Regions from separate parts of the Homo sapiens genome. Here regions 1 and 2 are each linked to region 3. The links are contacts of gene promoters, found by promoter capture Hi-C in blood cells and fetal thymus (Javierre and others, 2016). All regions are on one chromosome and are shown on one strand. Each heading gives the region's core, a stretch centred on a gene start or on the middle of the fragment in contact. The rest is flanking DNA. Distances are from core to core; before and after follow the strand shown.

Region 1 (3,678 bases), core at 362-2,861, 300 kb after region 3:
TCAACAACCAGGGATCAGGGCAAAAGTCTGGACTTGATCCTGCTGGCAATGGAGAGAGAACAAAGGATCTTTCTGTAAAAATGGGTTCTCCCTATGTTGCTCAGGCTGGTCTCAAACTTCTGGCTTCAAGCGACCCTCCTGCCTTGGCCTCCAAAAGTGCCGGGATTACAGGCATGAACCACCATGCCCAGCCTAAAGAACAAAGAATTATAAGCAGATGAATGACACTCAGATTTGTGTTACTTACTAACACAAATGACATATGTTAAAATTTTATTTAAATTTACTTAACCATTTCCAAAACTTACTGGCTTAAAACAACCACTACTTTATTTGTTCATGATTCTGGAGGTCAGCGATTTAGGTTGGTCTTGGCTGGGGTCACTCATGCTGTTTGGGTCACCTAACCGTTTAACTGAGCTTAGGAGGTCTAAGACAGCTTCCAGCACATGTCTCCAGCAGATTGGTCCAGGCTTCTTCACAGAGCCGCAGAAGAGCTCCAAAATGAGCGTGGAAGTTGCGAGGCTTCTTGAGGCCTACATGCAGAAGTTGCACAGCATCCCTTCCACCAGACTTTACTGGTCAAAACAAATCATAAGATCAGCCCAGATTCAAGAGGTGGGGAAACAGACTCCATCTCTTAATGACAGAAGCAGCAAAGTCACATTGTACTGGGACAGGATGGGAGGAATTATTGTGATCGGCGATCACACAACAGATAAGGGGTGGCATGAGAGGATGGGGGAGAATGGAAGAATTTAGGGCTGATTGGAGTAATAGAAATGAGTTTTGAGGCTACTGCCTTTGATCAGTGAGAAATGATAAGGCCCTACCTAAGGTAGGAATGCTAGGAAGGAGAGAAATATAAGCGACATTTCAAGAAAGGAATTTCAGATTGTGGCTGGGCGCAGTGGCTCATGCCTGTAATCCTAGCACTTTGGGAGGCCAAGGCAGGCTGATCACTTGAGCTCAAGAGTTCAAGACCAGCCTGGGCAACATGGCGAAACCCCATCTCTACTAAAAATACAGAAATTAGCCAGGCGCGGTGGCATGTGCCTGTAGTCCCAGCTACTCAGTAGGCTGAGGCAGGAGGATCACTTGAGCCTGGGAGGCGGAGGTTGCAGTGAGCCGAGATCACACCACGGCACTCCACCCTGGTGAGAGCCAGACCCTGTCTTAAAAAAAAAAAAAAAAAAAAAAGAAATTTCAGATTGTAACTTTTTGAGTTACTTAAGCAATCTAAGCTTGTTTCCTTCTCTATAAAATGGGACTAAAAAGAGTATATCAGCTGACTCTGGATTTGCTGCCTATGAGTTAGCCTTACTCTGCAAGGAGCAGTACTGTTCAATAAAAGATTGCTGTCTAACACCACTAGCTTGCCCTTGAATTCTTTCCTGGCTTTCTCCCAGGCTAAGCCCCAGTTTTGAGGCTTGCCTGCCCTGCAATAAAAACACACCATAAAAATAGTGCAAAGAAAAGCCACAAAATGGATGAAAATGTTCAAATTAACGAATAACTCTTTCAAAGTTTTATAATAAATAGGCAACAACAAAAAAGAGCATATCCCAGGGTTTCTGTGAAAGTAAGAAACAATGATGTAAGTAAAACAATGCTTTTTTCACATGGGCCTGGCTCAGGTACGTTCGATATACAGTAGTGATTACTGTCACTGCATCAAGGATAGCTGCAGTTTCTGGCATGGGCAGCAGGGTAAAGGGTGGTGTTAAGTTTGGAGATGAAGAATGCAGATGGGAAGAAGGGCAGATTGGCAGGGGTGAGAGTGGTGATTTGAGTTGTTACTGGGGTCTCTGCTTGACCCCCTTGCCTTCCACTAAAGACCCTCAAATCTGAGATCTTCTAATCCAAAGGTTCTTAACTTGGGGGAGATAGGCCTTAGGAAGTACCAAAGCCCCTGAAATTATATGTAAAATGCTATGGTGTTTTTTGTCTTTATTTTTCTGAGAACGGCCAAAGCTTTTACCAGTCTCTCAAACAGATTTGTGACTCCTAAAAGGTGAAAACCATAGATCCAAGCTATCAATGTATATTGACCCATAACTGCCCCAATACCTGACCCTCTGCTGTGGTTCAACTGTTGCAAATCACAAGGAAAGAGGAGCTCATGAACAAGACTGAGGCAATACTGCTAAGCTTCCAGGTCTCTCAATATGATCCCTCCTACATTAAGCCATATTTTGCATTATTATTCTCTGTGGGCTTGGTTCTCTACCCACTTTTTTTTTTTTTTTTTTTTTTTTTGTATTTTTAGTAGAGATGGGGTTTCACCATGTTGGCCAGCCTGGTCTCGAACTCCTGACCTCAGGTGATCCACCTGCCTTGGCCTCCCAAAGTACTGGGATTACAGGCATGAGCCACCATGCCACCATGCCCAGCCAACCCCCTTCTCTTTTTTTAGGGAGACCTCAGATGTACAAAATTGAATTAATCATAATCTTTGTTTATAACATACTTTTATCACTTTTGTCATGAATAACAAATTTTTATGTATAACTTTTTATTAACTTAGCTGCTTTTAATAATTCAATAAGCACCAAACATAAAAGCTAGAGCCTTAACAATAATCTAACTTTATGTTCCCTCCAGCCCCATCCTATCCCCCTACCTCTAAGAACCATTATACTGAATTCCATAGTGAGAACCATTCTTTCCTTCTTACATGGTTTTACTGCATACATGTTCTTTTTACATGTTTTTAAATTCTTAATTGTATTTAATTTTATAGCATCACTACTCATTAGAGAAATGCAAATTAGGACCACAACGAGGTATCAAGATACATCCACTAGAATGAAGTTTTTATTTATTATTTATTTTTGAGACAGAGTCTCCCTCTGTTGCCCAGGCTGGAGTACAGTGGTGCAATCCCAGCTCACTGCAACCTCTACCTCCTGGGTGCAAGTGATTCTCATGCCTTAGTCTCCCAAGTAGCTGGAATCACAGGTATGTGCCACCACACCCGGCTAATTTTTGCATTTTTAGTACAGACGGGGTTTTCCCATGTTAGCCAGGCTGGTCTTGAACTCCTGACCTTAAGTGATCCGCCCGCCTCGGCCTCCCAAAGTACTGGGATTACAGACATAAGCCACACTGCCCGGCCCACTACAATAAAGTTTAACGTTGATAATCCTAAGTGTTAGTACTAAGATGTGGAGCAAATGGACCTCTCATACATTGCTGATGGCCGTGCAAAATGGTAGATCCACTTTGGAAAACAGTATGGTGGTACCTTATAAAGTTAAACATACATTTACCATATGACCTAGCAATTCTACCCCTAAGTATTTACTCAGAAGAAAACATGGGCTGGGCACAGTGGTTCACACCTGTAATCCTAGCACTTTGGGAGGCCGAGGTAGGTGGATCATCTGAGGTCAGGAGTTCGAGACCAGCCTGGCCAACATGGCGAAACCCCGTTTCTACTAAAAATACAAAGAAATTAACCAGGCATGGTGGTGGGTGCCTGTAATCCCAGCTACTCAGGAAGCTGCAGCAGAAGAATCGCTTGAACCTGGGAGGCGGGGGTTGCAGTGAGCTGAGATTGCACCATTGCACTCCAGCCTGGGCAAAAGAGTGAGACTCCATCTCAAAAAATAAAAAAAGAAAAGAAAACACGTACTCACAAAATTATATGCCCAAAAGGTATTGGCAGCATTACTA
Region 2 (4,095 bases), core at 1,033-3,532, 280 kb after region 3:
CGCCATTCTCCCGTCTTGAGTACCCAGGGGCACAATGCACTGCGGAAGGCTGCAGGCACCTCTGCCCAAGAAAGCCTGGGTATTCTCCAAGGTTTCTCCCCACTGAGACAGCCTGAGATACGGCCTTGTGGGAAGGGAAAGACCTGACCATACCTCAGCCCGATACCCGTAAAGGGTCTGTGCTGAGGAGGATCAGTGAAAGAGGAAGGCCTCTTTGCAGTTGAGATAAGAGGAAGGCATCTATCTCCTGCTCGTCCCTGGGAATGGAATGTGTCAGTGTAAAACCCGATCCTACGTTCTATTTACTGAGATAGGAGAAAACCACCTTATGGCTGGAGGTGAGACATGCTGGTGACAATACTGTTGTTTACTGCACTGAGATGCTTGTATAAAGTCAAACATAAATCTGGCCTACATACACATCAAGGCACAGCACCTTTCCTTAAACTTATGACACAGAGTCCTTTGCTCACATGTTTTCCTGTTGACCCTTTCCCCACCATTACCCTATAGTCCTGCCACATCCCCCTCACCGAGATGGTAGAGATAGTGATCAATAAATACTGACGGAACTCAGAGACCAGTGCTGGCGCGGGTCCTCCCTATACTGAGCGGTGGTCCCCTGGGCCCACTGTTCTTTCTCTATACTTTGTCTCTGTGTCTTATTTCTTTTCTCAGTCTCTTGTCCCACCTGAGGAGAAATACCCACAGGTGTGGAGGGGCTGGCCCCCTTCAACATGCAGGGCTACACCCTGGGCTGGCATGCAAGGTGCCTTCCTCATATCTCTCTCCTGTTCCTCTCCACGAAAGTGTGGCTGCAGAGTGCAGCGGGCACCTAGGTTCTAGTTCCAGCTCTGCCCCAACTCAAAAATCACTTGCGGAACATCTGCTGAACACAATTTTCTGTGACTCTTTCTGTCTCCCACCCAGGCACACCCTCCTGAGTCCTGCGGTTCCCAACCTGTAAAGCCTTCCCACCTGTCAGGTCCCACAGATACAGCAAGCCCTCCCTCTCTCAGCACATAAGAAGGCTTTAACTGGGGTCAGTGTTTCACACACCCAGAGGAAAAGCCCCTCTTCAAGCCACATCTTCCAAACCCTCAGCCAGGCCCTTCCACGCCTCCAAACCCACATACTGAGGTGATCCAAAGGCAGCGCAGGGAGAAAAGCTTGTTGACAGACCACCCACGGAGGGCTGGAACTAAACCTGCTCATGGAAAGGGCTTGCCAGGGGTTGGACACCACAGCAGGAGCCAGAGAGACTTCCCTTCTAGCCTGGCTTTGCCAAGATCTCCCTGTGCACTTGGCAGGTTTCTTTCTGGCTCCCTCTTAGGATCCAAATGCACAAATCAAGAAGCTTGAACTCAGCCAGGCGCGGTGGCTCACGCCCAGCACTTTGGGAGGCCGAGGCAGGTGTATCAACTGAGGTCAGGCGTTTGAGATCAGCCTGGCCAACATGGTGAAACCCAGTCTCTACTAAAAATGCAAAAATTAGCCAGGCGTAGTGGCGGGCCCCTGTAATCCCAGCTACTGGGGATGCTGAGGCAGCAAGAATCGCTTGCACCCGGGAGGCGGAGGTTGCAGTGAGCCGAGATCGCACCACTGCACTCTTGCCTGGGAGTCAGAGCGAGACTCCGTCTCAAAACAAAACAAAAAAAAACAAAAAACAAAACTCTAAGCTCTCCAGATCCCCTTGGCCATTACACTCTGCGATTCCAAAGTCCTCAACCCCTGGCATCCCACTGGTTGTCACGCTTGCGTTTTCGCATTCCAATAGGCAGCAATCGTGAGATTCTTTGGCACAAAGCAAAACTCCTCTTTGACCCAGTGAGGGAAAGGCCTTCCACCACCTGCCTTGACACTACCGTTTCCTTTCTTCCCCCGTGCTCTACCTGGCTCAGAAAGTGCGGAATATCTTAGGGCAAGGAGAGATTCTGGAGAGTTACACATCTGCTCTGCCCGCCCCATCCCCTGTCCCTCGGCGGGTCCGGCGGCTGAAAGTGCCGCTGCGAGTACCCTCAGGCCGCGCCCATCCCACTACGCTCCGGCAGTCACCTGGAGCCGGAAGCGCTGCGCCGCCCTGTCCATGTTCTCCAGGCCCGCTCGCTGCCTCTGTCGCGCCCGGACCACCGCGCCCCGCGCCGTCCGGCGCCCGGACCAGCGCAGGGCCACGGCCGCCGCCACGAAGCAGCAGGCCAGGGCGACCCCGGAGGCGCCAGGCAGCGCGGCCCACAGCTCGTACTGCACCATGATCCCTTCAGCCTGCTGCTGCCTACCGCGACAGTTGAAGCCGCCGCACGCGCAGCCCGCCCGCTCCGCCGCAAAACCCGGACTGGATCAGCCGGGATCCCACGCCCGCCTGCGCGGGAGGGGCGGGGAAGCGCGCCAGAGCCTAGAGGCTATCAGAGGCGGCCCGCCTGGCATCGCCCCCAGCGACATCCCGCTCCCCGCCAAGCCGAGCAGGCGGGTGGGGAAGGGCGACTGTTTCTCGTGGGCGACCTCCCAAGCTTGAGTTTAGCACCGGTTGGGCACCACAGCCCCGGCCGTCCTCTGCCCCCTGCACCCCAGAGCCCCAAATGCTGAAGACTGCGCCCCAGCCGGAGCCCCATGCCAGACATGCCAGCTGTTAGATATGAGTTCTAAATTTATCTTAAAAGAATCAATATGTCAGTATCTTCAATTCTTTGCCTTCTACTTTTAAACTTAACTTCCTCATAAAGCAACATTTTTCGATTACCTGCTCCTCCCTCACTCATTCTTCACCGTGGTTCATTCCGATTTCCTGCTCTGCGGTAACCATTTTTCCCGCCAAACCACTCACCCCCTCACTGTCTTTAAATTAGCCAATCGGAATTAGTTTAGCCTATAGGTCTAACCCTAGCCAACAGGGGAAGGACACAGCATCAGGAATCACGTGGGTCAGGCATAAGAACCACCTTCCCCTCCCTTGTCCAGGTGTGCGCTCACCTTTGCTCCGTCTGTGAGGGCGCACCCTTCTATAGAAGTAAATTGCCTTGCTGAGAAGAAAAAAAAGAAAATTTTATATTCGAGTGCTATTTCTTTTGCGGCACTGGGGGGAAACTTTATTTATAACAATTTGGGGGCTTGCTCGTGATTACATTCCCCTTCAGGGGCAGTCTCTGGTTCTCTCTCCTGAGGAGGTATGCCCCACCCTCTTGTGATGGCCTCAGGGGTGAGAAATCAGGACTCACCCAGTGCAAGAAATAACCTGAGCTCTCAGCAATGTGAAAAGAAACCAGCAGGCAACCTAGGGTAAAGCATCCTCACACACTGCAGAGACAACTCTGTGCACAGACAAAGGAAGAAGCCGAGGGAGCCGGTAAGGTACTTCCTTGGTGGTCAAATTCTGGAGGGCTAAATGTGTGTGTGCGTGAATGATCACAAACAACCCTACCTGTGGTGTTGTTCGTGTGGATGATGACAAGTCCTACTGCTGGACGGAGTGAGTGGGTCCTCTCCACGTTTCCGTAGCTACCTCATATGGCTTAGGGAGGATCCTGCGGTGGGATTTCTACTGGAATGCCAATGCTGAGGGGGGCCTAATTCTCCCTTGGGGGAGCAGCCAGAGAGGACAACACGAGTGGGAAGTGTGCAAAGGACCTTCAGAGGGGGAAAGGGAGGAAACAGGTCAACCTTCCAGGGAAGCAAGGCAAGACACCTCCTAGTTTGAGGGATTGAGCCTTCCAGGGCAGCAAGGCAAAACACCCCCTGGTTTGAGGGGTTGAGCCTTCCAGGTCAGGCAAGGCAAGATACCCCCTGGTTTGAGGTGTTGAGCCTTCCACAAATTTCAGGGGATCAAAAACCTCACACAAACCTCCGGTAGTAAGAAAAATATTCAGAATTCCCCTTTCCTTTCTTCTCGGGGAAGAAAAAGTAGCTGCACTCCTGACGGTCCCTTCCCTAGGGGAAGGGGAAGGAGAGGGGAGAACAGCAGCATAAGCAGCTGGCAGAGGCAGGGAAAGACCAGCAGAGAGGAAAGAGAAACTGGGAGAGGAAGTTGGAGAGAAAGAGAGAGGCAAAGAGAGAGAAAGAGAGGCAGAGAGAGAAAGAGACAGAAAGACAGAAGCCAGGCGT
Region 3 (3,815 bases), core at 126-2,625:
TGCAGGTTGCAGGGGAGCAGGGGCTTCCGCCTTGGGGTTGCTGTCTTGGTCAGCATGGCTCCTGCCTTCGGGGATGTCCAAATCCCACAGAACATCTGGATTCTGGACCTCAGTCTCAGTCTTGGTGACAGCAGGGGCAGGGCCCGTGTTGATGGCTGCATTCATGCCGTAGCGCCGTCGCTTGTTAATCCAGTACAACAATGGGCTGTAGGTGAATGTGGCAGCTCTCATCACCTCCACCCACTGCTGGGCATGCTCTTCCCGCCTCAAGTTCTTCCTCCAGTGCAGAAAGATAATGCACCCTCCAGTTATCACAGAACACAGCCCCAGGATTCCAAAGTACAATGAGACCCACACTAAGGCAGCAAGAAAGAAAAAGAGGCATGCTGGCTGATAGCTGTAGCTTGGGGCCTGAGCTGTTTCTCATTCCTCTTTCACTTAACCCATGCATCAATCGCTCCATCCACTTAACTACTCTCACCGTTCCTTCCCTCCCTTATTGACTTGCCTCATCATTCCCTTATTCAGTCAAAGCTAGATTTCCAGGGAGCTTAAGCACCACCTTTAACTCTTTACAGATCACAAAAGCTAGGTCTAGCGGGGGCATGTGCTGCCCAGGCTCAGTCAAGCCTCTGATTCCTAACCCAGGACCCATCCAATCCATCAGACTGAGAAGTTTCACTATGGGCAAGTCCATCAAGAAGCAAAAGTTCACCAGCACTTTGTGAGGCCCAGGTGGGCAGATCACTTGAGGTCAGGACTTCAAGTCCAGCCTGGCCAACATGGTGAAACCCCGTCTCTACTAAAAATTTTAAAATTAGCCAGGTGTGGTGGTGCATGCCTGCAGTCCCAGCTACTTCAGAGGCTGAGGCAGGAGAATCACTTGAATCCAGGAGGTGGAGGTTACAGTGAGCCTAGATTGAGCCACTGCACTCCAGCCGGGGCAACAGAGCAAAACTTCATCTCAAAAAAAAAAAAAAAAGTGAAAGTTCATCAGTTGACAGAGACACCAATGTCCCATCCCATTCCATTCAGCTGTGATAGTCCTGGGCTATTGATAGTATCTTCTCTGGTTGATCAGAGCATGGTCTTTGCCTTAAAATAATTCTTAGTTTTCTAGAGTAGACTATCTCCTAACTGCTTAGCTCTCCTCCAGGCAGCCAGGCACTGTCCCATCCATGCAAAGGGCCTTCCCTGAGTGTTTGTCCCCAAGCCCTAAGGCACAAGTCCAGTGACAGGGACTGGAGGAGCACTTACTCCCAGGGAAGCGCAGGTCCTCCTGTTGGGAATCCATACAGCTGAGCTTTGGTACCTGGCCGATGGCTCTGGGGAGAGGGAACTCACCCACCCATCTGCCCAGCCAGTCAGCCCATCTGCCCAGCCAATCAGAGTCTCCAGAATGCCCAGGCCCTTTGTTCTCTAAAGGAGAGGTCACTGGGTTCTGAGAATTGGGCATTCTAGGGGCAGTGCTTGTGAAGTGGTCCTGGGTTAATGGAAGGAGGGGACTTCATCCAGTGGCATTTTTTGGGTGGAATGTCACTACTACTTCCATCAGAGACTGGTTCACCTATTGAATTGTCTGTACCTACCCCTTATGGTGAACCCACAGAGCAGACCCCAGAAAAGGGCCATTGTCCCTCAGGTACTTACGGATGTTGCTGGTCTTTAGGGAACGGTTGATGGGATACCTGTCCCCAGTGAGGAATGTAACAAGGAACACACAGCATTGGGCAGCCCTGTTCTCAAAAAGTATCTAACCAAGTTGGCAGGAAGAAACCTGCTCAAGGGAACCAAGTGGTCAATACCTCCTTCTTTGGCTCCAACAATCTGTCTTTTATTTAATTACCTTCCTTCAAGTGCTGACAAGTGTTTCCCAGGCCCCAGGCCCTGTGGGGCTTCCCACCATCTGGCCTGCATCTACTTCCAGCCTTACTTCCCTCCTCGTCCTCCACACACTTTTCCCTTTTGCCTAGTCCGTACTCCTGAACAGACCCTGCTCATTCACATCTCTGGAGGTGTGCCCATGCTGCTCCTTCACCCAGGAGTGCCCCTGCCCACTTTTCCACCACTGAACACCTGCTCATCCTTCAAGACTCAGCTCAGCCCCCCTACTCTGTGACAGACTGCCCAGAATCATATCATCGCCAATTTGAAGAAACTTTGAGAGTTGTCTAGTTCATCTCCACCATCTGATCCCACCATCAGGGCCATGCTTGACTCCTGGGGGTAGATTTTTCCCCACACAGCAACTAATCTCCCTGGACTCAAGACTCACTTGAGTCAGGAACTTGCTCACCACCTCCTGAGGCAGCTTGATGCATTTATGGGCAGCTCAGTTAGAAAGCCCTTCCCTAATTAAGCTTAAGTCAGCCTTCCCAGTATGTTGCACCACTGCTTGTAGCTCAGCTTCTTAGCACCATTTTAATGACTCCCCTCTTTATAGTCCTCCAATGTGTGACTTAGGGAACTATTTAGCACAGAATTCTCTCCAGGGTCCACTTACCCTTGTTCTCCTCGTATATCACTGGCCCCTACTTTCCAGTCTCCTTTGCTGGTTTCTCCCTTTTCCCCTGATCTCTAAATGTAGGCATGTCTAGGGCTCAGTTCTTAGTGCTCTATCTACATTCATTCCATCAGTTATCTCACCCAGACCCCTGGCTTTAAATATCACTATACACTGACAGTACGCAACTGTATCTCTCCAGCCTGGAATGCTCCTCAGAACTTTAGACTCATACCCAAATACCTGGTTGACATCCCTCCTTGCCAGTCTGTTAAATTATCCCAAACCAACATGTCCAAAACCAAACTCTGATTATCCATCCTCCAAAGTCTACCCTACCTACAGCCTTCCTCCTCTTCATAAGTAGTATCTCTGTCCTTCGGGTTGTTCAGGCCAAAAACCTGCAAGTCATCCTTGACTCCTTTCATTCTATCACACCCACACTGACTCCATCAGCAAGATCTTTAGGCTTTTATTTCAAAATATAACCAAAATCTGGCCACTTTTTTTTATCACTATCACTTTAGTCCAAGTACCACCATCTCTCACTTGGATTACTGTTCCCTGTAGGGTGACCAACATCCTGGTTTGCCCAGGACTTGGGGTGGGTTCTCAGGACATGGGGCTTTCAATGCTAGAGCCAAGAAAGTCCTAGGCAAACTGGAATAAATTAGTCACCCTTGGGAGAGTTTCCATCCTTGCCTCCACATATCCTAAATCCCACCAGCAGCCAGCATGATCCTTTTAAAAAGTAGATCATGTTACTCCACTGCTTAAAACATATAGTAACTTCCGATCTCATTCGATTTAAAATCAAAGTCCTTAACCAAGGCCTAAGCAATCTAACTAGCCCTCCCTATACCTTCTTGGTCTCATTTCTGCTGCTGTGCCCTCACTCATTCAGACTCAATAACCTCCTCATCAGGGCCTTTGCACTTGCTGTTTCCCCTACCTGGAAGGCTCTTCCCCCAGCATTCCCACATTACCTTCAGGTCTCTGCTCAAGTGTCCCCTTATCTCTATCTCTCTTGGCCTGCTGTTTTTCTGCATACCATGTAGCATCACCTAACATTATATATTTACTGTCTGTTTCACTCCACTAGAATGTAAGCTCAATGAATTAATATAAACAAGGATCTAAGAACTTCAGATAATGATAACTGCTATAAAGAGAATGCAATAGAGTGATGGGATAAAGACTATAAAGAGATGGAGGGGTTGTCATTTAGGTCCCTTGGAGGTGCTTACATGTGAACTGAGCCCTTAGATGATGAGGAGGCAGCCACATGCAGATCCACAGAGAAAACAGCAAG

The links. Contacts are between HindIII fragments. The CHiCAGO score rates a contact against its expected background, and 5 or more counts as called.
Region 1: a fragment that was not itself captured here is called in contact with the fragment with the promoter of TEX38 in region 3 in 1 of 17 cell types (erythroblasts); the score reaches 5.1 in erythroblasts.
Region 2: a contact is called between the fragment with the promoter of FAAH here and the fragment with the promoter of TEX38 in region 3, in 6 of 17 cell types (erythroblasts, M0 macrophages, monocytes and 3 more). The highest score is 12.0, in erythroblasts.

The regions. Positions count from the first base shown.
Region 1 is chr1:46,365,286-46,368,963 of GRCh38, reverse strand. It overlaps a transcript of NSUN4 not described here. Among named protein-coding and RNA genes, the nearest start is that of NSUN4, 26 kb to the right of the region's middle. The HindIII fragment of the contact is 730 bases long and covers 1,247-1,976 here.
Region 2 is chr1:46,392,504-46,396,598 of GRCh38, reverse strand. FAAH (fatty acid amide hydrolase) reads right to left here and starts at 2,282. Exons shown (of 15, transcript NM_001441.3): 1 at 2,056-2,282. The coding sequence starts at 2,250. RefSeq lists an enhancer at 1,881-2,394. The HindIII fragment of the contact is 1,150 bases long and covers 1,360-2,509 here.
Region 3 is chr1:46,669,414-46,673,228 of GRCh38, reverse strand. It overlaps TEX38 (testis expressed 38), which reads right to left and starts at 1,375. Exons shown (of 2, transcript NM_001145474.4): 1 at 1,258-1,375; 2 at 1-356. The coding sequence starts at 1,294. The HindIII fragment of the contact is 3,767 bases long and covers 1-2,362 here.